2 separate regions of the Homo sapiens genome follow, and region 1 is linked to region 2. The links are contacts of gene promoters, found by promoter capture Hi-C in human tissues and cell types (Jung and others, 2019). All regions are on one chromosome and are shown on one strand. The core of a region is centred on a gene start or on the middle of the fragment in contact, and the rest is flanking DNA. Distances in the headings are between cores, read along the strand shown. Region 1 has its middle 9.7 kb from the start of ARMH2. Region 2 holds the start of SLC17A2 (solute carrier family 17 member 2).

Region 1 (5,076 bases), core at 386-2,885, 1.1 Mb before region 2:
GCATACAAGTAGTTTTGTATAAATTGGCAATAAAGAGCAATGTCATGCTTTTATTTTTTTTCCTTTGAGACGGAGTCTTGCTCTTGTTGCCCAGGCTGGAGTGCAATGGCATGATCTTGGCTCACTGCAACCTCTGCCTCCCTGGTTCAAGTGATTCTGCCTCAGCCTCCTGAGTAGCTGCGATTACAGGTGCCTGCCACCACACCTGGCTAGTTTTTGTATTTTTAGTAGAGCCGGGGTTTCACCATGTTGGCCAGGCTGGTCTCGAACTCCTGACCCCAAGTGATCCGCCCACCTCAGCCTCCCAAAGTGCTGGGATGACAGGTGTGAGGCACCACGCCTGGCCTCAAGCTTTTGAAAGGATTGTTTTAGGTAAGCATCCTTATAGAACCTTAATTTTCTCTCTCTGTCACCCAGGCGGGAGTGCAGGGGTGCAATCTCAGCTCACTTCAGCCTCCACCTGATGGGCGCAAGTCATCTTCCCACTTCAGCCTCCCAAGTAGCTGAGACTACAGGTGCGTGCCACCACACCTGGCTAATTTTTTATATAGACGGGGTTTCGCCATGTTGCCCAGGCTGGTCTTGAATTCCTGGCATCAAGCGATCCGCCTGCTTCGGCCTCCAGAGTGTTGGGATTACAGGCGTGAGCCACCGTGCCTGGCCTTAATTTTCTTTAATACTGAGATAAAGCCTACCTCATAGTGTTATCGTGAAGATTAAAACCTTTAGTGTCTAGGCTAAGTGTCTTAAAAATGGAAGCTATTATTAATCTATAACAACATTGTCCAGTAGAACTTATTGGGATGATGAGAATATCTGCTGTACAGTATGGTAGCCATTTCTGTGTGGCTGTTTAGCACTTGAAGTGTGGCTAGTGTGAATGAGGTATGGACATTTTAATTTAAGTCACTACAAGAAGCTAGTGGCAATTACGTTAGTGTGGCTCTGTGTGTTTCAGGTGTGGATCACTAGCCTAAAGATAGGATTAATAGGTAAATTAATTTTAAAGGAATTGAAGAATATTCTGGATTAGAGCATGAGGAGACTCAGTTGAGAGGCCTTTAGCATGGTTAAGAAAGAAAATAGGTAAGTAGAATAGGGACTTGACAAATAGAAAGTATTTTTGTAAAATGCCAGAATTTGATGGTGGGGAGCAAAAGGAGAGGGAATTGAAGGGGATTAAAAAACTAAGGTAGTAGCTAAAACCATAAAACTTCTAGATTATATAGAAAAGTTCTTAGTGACTTTGGGTTTGGCAGAGAGTTCTCAAATAGGACACAAAAAAGCATCAACTTCAAATTAAACGTTGTAAATTTTAAAAACTTTTTGAAAGACAAGCAAATGAAAAGGCAAGAACAGACTGGGGGAACATATTTGCAGAACATAGCCAACAAAGGATTTGTATCTATAAAGAACTAGGGTATGTATGAGATGGAAACTAAGTGCATGAAAAGATGCTCAACATTAGTCATTAAGGAAGTGCAAATTAAATGACAACCAGATACTGCTACATACCTTTCAGAATTGTTTTAAGTTTGAAAAATAAAAACAACTCCATCGAGTGTTAAGGATGTGAAACATCTGAAACCCTCCTGCAGTGGTGGTGGCAGTGCTAAATGCTACAACTGCTGTGGAAAAGTTGAACAATTCCTTAAAAGTTATACATACACATTTTATATGACTCAGCCATTCCACCCCTGGGTATTTACCCAAGAGAAACGAAAGCATATGTCCACATGAAGACTAGTTCACACATTTTCATAGCTTTATTTGTAATAGCCCAAATATCCATTGGTAACTGAGTGGATAAATTATGGTATAACTATACAGTGGAATACTATTTAGCAATAAAAAGGGGACAAAAATTGGTACACGCCACATGGACGAATCTCAATGTTGTGTGAAAGAAGCCAGGTAAATACATACTGTATGCTTCTATTTATTTAAAATCACAAAACTACAAAGTATAATGAGAAAGCAGATTAGTAGTTGCCTAAGGGTCATGTAGGGGCTGTTTTGGGGGACATATTTTAAGCTTCTAGTCCCTGGGAACTGACCCTAGTGATGGAGAATTTGTAGGAATTTCCTGTGGAAGATGAGTCTGATTTTTAATTAGGTATCAAATGTTAGTATAGCATGTCAGCCGGGTGTGATGGCTACGCCTGTAATCCCTACACTTTGGGAGGCTGAGGCAGGCAGATCACTTGAGGACAGGAGTTCAACATCAGCCTGGCTAACATGGCAAAATGCTTTGTCTACTAAAAATACAAAAGATTAGTTGGGCGTGGTGGTGCACACCTGTAGTCACAGCTCTTCGGGAGGCTGAGGCACACAAGAATTGCTTGAATCTGGGAGGCAGAAGTTGCAGTGAGCATAGATTGCGCCACTGCACTCCAGCCTCGGCAACAGAGTGAGGCTCTGTCTCAACAAAACAAAAAACATGTCAATGAAAATACCTTGGAGAAGGGGTCAGGGAGTCAATCAAGCCTGGCCCATTAGAACAAGTTCTTTGAAGTTGGTTTAATAAAATGCAGTCGAGCTTCGTTAAGGAAATGGCAAATGGATAAGAATCAGTTGGAAAAACAGTATGCATGAAGCCTGGATTAGACTGAACTAATTTGTCAATATATTTTACAAGGCTAGCATAACTGATATCAAGATTTGAGGATGGACCAGCCAGGTGTGGTGGCTTATGCCTGTAATCCCAGCACTTTGGGAGGCCCAGGTGGGCAGATCACCTGAGGTCAGGAATTCAGGACCAGCCTGACAAACATGGTGAAAACCTGTCTACTAAAAATACAAAATTAGCCAGGCGTGATGGTGCATGCCTGTAGTCCCAGCTATTTGGGAAGCTGAGGCAGGAGAATTGCTTGAACCCAGGAGGTAGAGGATGCAGTGAGCCAAGGTCGCGTCTTTGCACTCCAGCCTGGGCAACGAGCGAAACCTCATCTCAAAAAAAAAAAAAAAAAAAAAAAAAAGAAGGTAATGAGGATGGACCGTAAGGTTGGAGTAGGGGAATCTAGAGCCTTATTAATACAGATTGAAAAATCATAAATAAAATGGCAAGTCTAATCTACTAAAAGATAAAACGATGACCAAGTTAGGGTTTATCTCAGGAATGCAAGACTGCTATAATATTAGTAAACATGAAGTTCTTTATATTAAAGGGGAAAAAGCATATCATCTTAATAGATGGTAAAATAGCATTGATAAAATTCAACACCCTTTCTGGTAAAAACCCTTGGTAAGCTAGGAAAAGAAAAGAATTTTAACCTGAAATAAACTATGCTACCCATGCTTAACATAATGCTTAATGGTGAAGCTTTGGAATTAGTTTCAAGGTCAAGAGCTAGAAAAGGATGGACCACAATTATTTCCAATTCTTTTGGAGGTGGATGCAATGAGACCAAATAAAGGATAATTATAGGAAGGGAAGAGAAAAGCTAATCCAAGAGCAGATAGAAATGAATTTTAAGACTACACCATGGGTAAGATATCTCCCCCAAATAAACTGACGTGTTATTAGAAGAAAGAATAAATTCTAGTGAGCCAAAACGCAACAAACGTCCACCACACTGCCTTACGGCCCTCGTAATTTTGGTTTGTTTAGAAAACTTCCTTGCCTATCCCACACCCTTCAAGATATTTCAGTTGACTTTTAGGTTGTAACTAATTAGGTTGTTAGGTCAACCAAGAAGGATAAGAATTGGTGTATACATATCTGAGCTCCTTGGGACCTCTGGATGAAATAATTCTTAAGGCATGTGTGTTGTGTGTTTACCAGATGGTTCCCCAGCAGGATTAAGCTTCCGTTTACCTACAGTGGCAGCTTTCTTCATAATACATCTTTTATTGGCTTTCTTCCCTTCCCTATTGCTAGTTCCCGAGATCACCTCCCAAATAATATCTTTCAAATCCTTAAGCAAATCCTCTGATTTGCTTCTAGCAAAACTCAAAAGTTGGGAGAGATGAACTTAGGAGGGACAGCAAAGGAAAACAAAATCACTGTTGTTAAAGCTTTGGTAAGCCAGCTTAAAATTCAAGGTTTACAGTAAAAATGCCTCAGCTCGAATCTGAACCTTGTATCTTACCTCCTTCAACTTAAAGAGGTTCCAGAGACCAAAAAGGAATTTGAATAGAACATATTATTAGACTACCTTATAAGCTAATCTTCTGTAGATAAAATGTTAACCAAAATTTCTGTAAACATTGTCACAGAGAGGCCTTCAGCAATTTCTGGTTAAACATGTTAATTGAACAGAGCCATTTAATTTCTGTCTTTCCCAAACATTATTAAAATGACAGTAAGCTGTAAAAAACATCATAATCCCGTGCTGACCAAGCAGAGTCAACAGAAGTTGAGGCAAAAGTCACAATGCAGGGAACAGAATAAAACAAAAGCAAACGATGTAAGTATGGCTAAGCAATTCCATTTCTAGAAATTTATTCAACAGATATGCTCACACATGTGAAATTACACATATTTAAGGTTATTCATTACAACTTTGAACTATCAAAATATTGGAAATAACTTAAATGTTCATCAGTATAGGACTGGTTGTATAAATTACAGTTCACCCTTGAACAAGGCAGCCATTAGGGAAGCCAACACCTGTGCAGTTGAAAATCTGCATATAAATTTTTCTTTTCTTTTTTTTTTTTTTTTTTTTGAGACAGTCTCAGCTCTGTCGCCCAGGCTGGAGTGCAGTGGCACCATCTCAGCTTACTGCAACCTCCGCCTCCTGGGTTCAAGAGATTCTCCTGCCTCAGCCTCCCGAGTACCTGTGACTACAGGCGCGTGCCACCACGCCTGGCTAATATAAATTTTCTTTGGCTATCTTCTGCTTTTAAAATTTAGATAATTTTTCTTTTTTCTTTTTTTTTCTTTTTTTGAGATGGAGTCTGGCTCTATCACCCAGGCTTGCGTGCAGTGGTGTGATCTTGGCTCACTGCAACCTCTGCTTCTGGCTTCCAGTGATTCTCCTGCCTCAGCCTCCCGAGTAGCTGGGATTACAGGCACACACCACCATGTTTGGCTAATTTTTGTATTTTTAGTAGAGATGGGGGTTTCACCAT
Region 2 (5,199 bases), core at 489-2,988:
TTGAATTTGAGAAAAAAATAAATAATGTAAATATTATGGTATACGCATAAGCAAAAAAACAGGTTTTTCCCTTTTTTTAAGTCTAGAACTCATGATTTTATTATAATGGTCGTTAGATTGCTCTTAGATTCTCCTAATATCCAGCCTGTCTTGCTTCATCTCTGTTAGCCCAGAGTCCTAGTTTACTCAGAGTAAATGTTACACCTAGATCAAAGAGCATGAACCTGCAGTGGGAGGATATTCAAGGACTGAATTCTGCTCTGCCATTCCCAAATTGAGTAAACCAGGTAAAGTTTCAAAAACTCTTAGGGCTTTCACTGTTTCATAGGAAGAATTGGGATAATGTTACTTCACTGGGCAGTTTGGAGTGAAAACAAAAGTATGAGACATGCCTCGTAAATTGCAAAGTGTTATATGTTGTATAATATTCTAGATACTAGCAACAGCAATAATAATAAACAGTCACAATATTGGCAGTCTAGCCCTCTCAGATCCATAAATACAGGCCTACAGCAAATGAAATGTATTTCTATAAAAGTGCCTTTGATTGGTTGTTAAATTGGTTTTAAATGTTTCTTTTTTAAAGTGGATTCTTCTGGCCTGGAATCCTCAAGATGAGTGGGGAGGAGTTCACCAGAAAACATAGAAGCAATTCCTTCAGTGTTAGAAAAACTGAGGGCCCTCTCATCATCTGCCTATCTTTCTGAGAAATTGGTGCTGACCACAATGTCCCTGGGTGCCTTTTCTTAGCTGTACAATGAGGGCAACAAGCTAGGTGATCTCTACAAGCGTACAATTTTCTTGCCTTCAGTCTTATTCATAACTTTGGTCATGTTCTCCTTTTCTTTTATTATTATTATTTTTTTGAGACAGAGTCTTACTCTGTCACCTAGGCTGGAGTGCAGTGGTATGATCTCAACTACTGCAACCTCTACGTCCTGGGTTCAAGCAATTCTCCTGCCTCAGCCTTCTGAATAGCTGGCACGCGCACTATGCATGCGCATAGGTGCACGCGCCGCTACGCCCTGCTAATTTTTGTATTTTTAGTGGAGACAGGGTTTCACCATGTTGGCCAGGCTGGTCTCAAACTCCTGACCTCAAGTGATCTGCCCGCCTCAGCCTGCCAAAGTGCTGGGATTACAGGCGTGAGCCACCAGGCCCGGCCATGTTCTCCTTTTCCTGAGAGACCATTTCAAATTCATATAGAAGTCTGAAAAGACTCGTTAGCCACAGTCCCAAACACAAATCTTGTCAGTTCTGATCAGTATTTCATTCCACAGCCAATCCCAGTCTGACTAATCACAGCATCACAGTTAATACTCACAGCGTCCTTGGAGAAATGACCATTGTCCACAGTGTCCATTGGTACCAGTGGCTTCTCAAGCCTTGCCCTAGGGTCTTCATTGAATCAGTTATCTTTTTCAGAGAGTCTCTTCATTTTGGAATTAGGCAATATTACCAGATGGAGATCCTTATGTTGCTGTTAATGTCTTTTCTCTGACTTCTCCTAAAACTGTTCCCTCCCCTTAATGGACCTTTGGTAAGTTAGTAATAATCCTTCTACCCAAAAAGAAGAAAAGCACTTACCTTCACCATTAAACCAGTATTTTAAGCCCTAGACTATAAGGCTAACTTGGAAAAGGAGGGAGTTTTCTGTCCCTTCTTCCCTTTCAAATACTTTTGCAGATTTTTACAGGGATAAATAGTGAGCCACGTGGCAGTCAGACGGCAACAGGTTTGGCCCCACTTTCTCAGAAAGCCTCGGCTTGGTTTTGCCGCTTAATTTTTAACTTCATTTTCAAGTTCTCACTGTTAGAGTATCTCAAAAGATGTCATCGTGTGTTTCTGCTTTGAACTGTGCATACAACCATTCAGTCAACAAGCCTTTTTTTCTGAAAGCAAGGGGGCATGGTGTGGAGGAAAGGGCAGGGCTCCTGAAATCAGTGATGGAGTCAGACCCATATTCACTTCCTAGTGTTTTCCCTGAGCTTGGACAAGTCACTGAACCTCTTTGAATTGGCTTCCGCTTTAGTAAAGCAAGGATTGTGTTACTGTACTCATGGGGTTATTGAACAAATGAAATACATATTCTAATTGGTAGTAGCTCCTCAATAAATGAGGTGTTCATTCCTCTTCAGGAGTTCAGTTAAGTCAGCTAGATTTTCCATATGCATTTGGTGCCCACAGCCTAATGAATGTGAACTGTGACTGCCCTGGCAACTTCCCAGGAAGCTGCCTTGTACCCCTCCTTCCTGTTTCATATCATCCATGTCTTCCCTAATCCATTTTCTGCTTGGCTCCCGACTCTTGGAATTGTGTCCTATTTGTAATCATTAATTTTGAGACTGTGGTTGCTATTGGATCTTCCTAGTGTGACGCAACCCTTATAAAATGAAATGAGAGCCTTCCCTCTCTGGCTTATCAGCTTCAGACTTCCTTAATTGAGTTCCGCCATCCTAGTGAGTCTCACCATACTCCCGAAATAACCTGCTGGAGTAGGCTTATCCTACTCAACTCCTCAGATCTCTGTATTTAATTCTATTTTATTGCTGTTGTAGTAAATTACCACAACTGTGATGGCTTGAAACAACACAAAATTATTTATTTATTTACAATTCTAAAGGTCAGAAGTCCAAAATGGGTTTCACTGAGCCAAAATCAAGGTATTGGCAAGGTTGTGCCCCCTCCAGAGGCTTTAGGGGAAAATCCATTTCTTTTTCTTTTCAGCTTGTAGTGACCACTGCATTTTTTGGCTCTTGGCCTTTCCTCCACCTTAAAGCCAGCAGTGTAACATCTTGAAGTATTTTTCTCTTATTCTGACTCTTCTGCCTGTCTCTTATAAGGACCCTTGTGATTACACTAGGGCCCATCTGCAAAATTCAGGAAAATCTGCCCATCTCAAAATTCTTAACTTATTAAACATGTAAAGTCCCTTTTGTCATATAAGGTAATATATTTACAGGTTCTGGGGATTAGGACATGGATATCTTTGGAGGACAACATTCAGCCTACCCTTTTGAGGGATAGAGGGGTAGCAGGAAGAGTTGAAACAATTCCTTCCTTTCTTTATTTAAAAATTCTGGTTATTGATTTATTATAGTTATCATGTGCCTGATAAGCCAATGAAAATAGTTATAATGGCCAGGGGCAGTGGCTCATGCCTGTAATCCCAGGACTTTGGGAGGCTGAGGCAGGAGAATCGCATAAGCCCAGGAATCCAAGACCAGCCTTAGCAACATAGGGAGATCCCGTCTCCACAAAAAAATGCAAAAATTAGCTTGATGTTGTGGCACATGCCTATAGTCCCAGCTACTCAGGAGGATTGCTTGAGCCCTGGAGTTCAAGGCTGCAGTGAGCTGAGATTGCACCACTGCACTCCAGCCTAGGCAATAGAGCAAGACCCTGTCAGAAAGAAAAAGAAAGAAAGAAAGAAAGAAAGAAAGAAAGAAAGAAAGAAAGAGAGAGAGAGAAAGAAAGAAAGAGAAAGAGAGAAAGAAAGAAAGAGAGAAAGAGAAGAAAGGAGAACTTTCTTGGCTTAATTTACCCAAAAGGTATGATATTTTCTTAATTTGCATAAGGCAGAGCATGAGCTGATACCAGTTCTGGTAGAAAAAGTAGGTGAGACTGGATCCCCCAAACAAGAGTAAATATTTAATATAATAAGGAAAGAGTGGCCGAAAGTATTCAATGCCACAAGTAAGATTCAGAGTAGATTTTTCAAACTGCATAATTTGTTTAAAAAGCATAATTTTATAGCTGGATTTTGCAAGCTCTCTGAGGGGATCTTGTTCATTTTGAGAATCACTATATCCACAATTCTTGGCACAGTGTCTGTCCTATGGTGTGTGCTATGATCCAAATGTCTGTATCCTCTCAAAACTCATGTTGAAATCCTAACCCACAAAGTGATAATATTAGAAGGAGGGGTCTTTGGGCAGTAGTTATACCATGAGGGCAGAAACCTCATCACTAGGATTAGTGTCCTTATAAAAGAAACCCAAGGAAGTTTATTCAACCCTTCTGCCATGTTAGGACTCAGCAAAAAGATGGCTACCTGTCCTCACCAGACACTAAATTTGCCAGGGCCTTAATCTTAGACTTCCCACCTCCAGAACTGTAAGAAATAAATTTTTTGTTGTTTATAAGTCACCCAGTTTATGATATTTTGTTACAGCAGTCTGAACAGACTAAGACAGTACACGCTTAATAAACATTAGTTTACTGAATGAATGAATTCTTGCATTGCTTCACCACCAACAATCAAGATCTCTGTAGCTGGTTTAACCCCCTCACTCCCAATCATGATTTTCATATAACAAAGTTAACTCAGTTAAATCAACTCAATAAGGTATACATTAAATGAAATTAAAGAAGTTGTAACATTTATAAACATCAAGAGTAATGTAGAAGAAAAGTCCAGAGATCCTTAAAAATTTAAGCCTCTCTGGCCTGACATTAACAGCTAAGGCAGGAACAGAAAACCAAACACCTCATGTTCTCACTTATGAGTGGGAGCTGAACAATGAGAACATGTGGACACAGGGAGGGGAACAACACTCACTGGGGCCTGTTGGGGGAGGATGGGGTGGGGGTGTGGGAGAACATTAGGTAAAAGAGCTAATGCATGCTGTACTTAATACCTAGGTGATGGGTTGATAGGTGCAGCAAATCACCATGGCACACGTTTACCTATGTAACAAACCTGCACATCCTGTACTTGTACCCAGGAACTTAAAAAATAATAATTTTTTAAAAAACAGCTATTTCCAATCAGAGCAGTTCAATTCCATACAATTATTATTATTATTATTATTATTATTATTATTATTATTTTGAGATGGAGTCTCACTGTCGCCCAGGCTGGAGTGCAGTGGCATGATCTCAGCTCATTGCAATCTCTGCCTCCCAGGTTCAAGTGATCCTCCCGCTTCAGCCTCCTGAGTAGCTGGGATTACAGGTGGGCACCACCACGCCTGGCTACTTTTTGTATTTTTAGTAGAGATGAGGTTTCACCATTTTGGCCAGGCTGGTCTTGAATTTCTGACCTCATGTGATCCTCCTGCCTCGGCCTCCCAAAGTGCTGGGATTACGGGCTTGATCCACTGCGCCCAGCCAACATACTATATTTTTTTTTGATAAATTTTCTGTATTCTAGACATGACATTAGCTTCCGACAATATTAATTTATTAAGATCTGAC

What was found. Contacts are between HindIII fragments. The study calls those that stand out against the background at their distance.
Region 1: a contact is called between a fragment that was not itself captured here and the fragment with the promoter of SLC17A2 in region 2, in 1 of the 25 tissues and cell types used here (adrenal gland).

What each region holds. Positions count from the first base shown.
Region 1 is chr6:24,786,640-24,791,715 of GRCh38, forward strand. No RefSeq gene overlaps it. Among named protein-coding and RNA genes, the nearest start is that of ARMH2, 9.7 kb to the right of the region's middle. The HindIII fragment of the contact is 3,858 bases long and covers 1-3,564 here.
Region 2 is chr6:25,928,953-25,934,151 of GRCh38, forward strand. It overlaps SLC17A2 (solute carrier family 17 member 2), which reads right to left and starts at 1,739. Exons shown (of 12, transcript NM_001286123.3): 1 at 1,325-1,739. The HindIII fragment of the contact is 8,808 bases long and covers 1-5,199 here.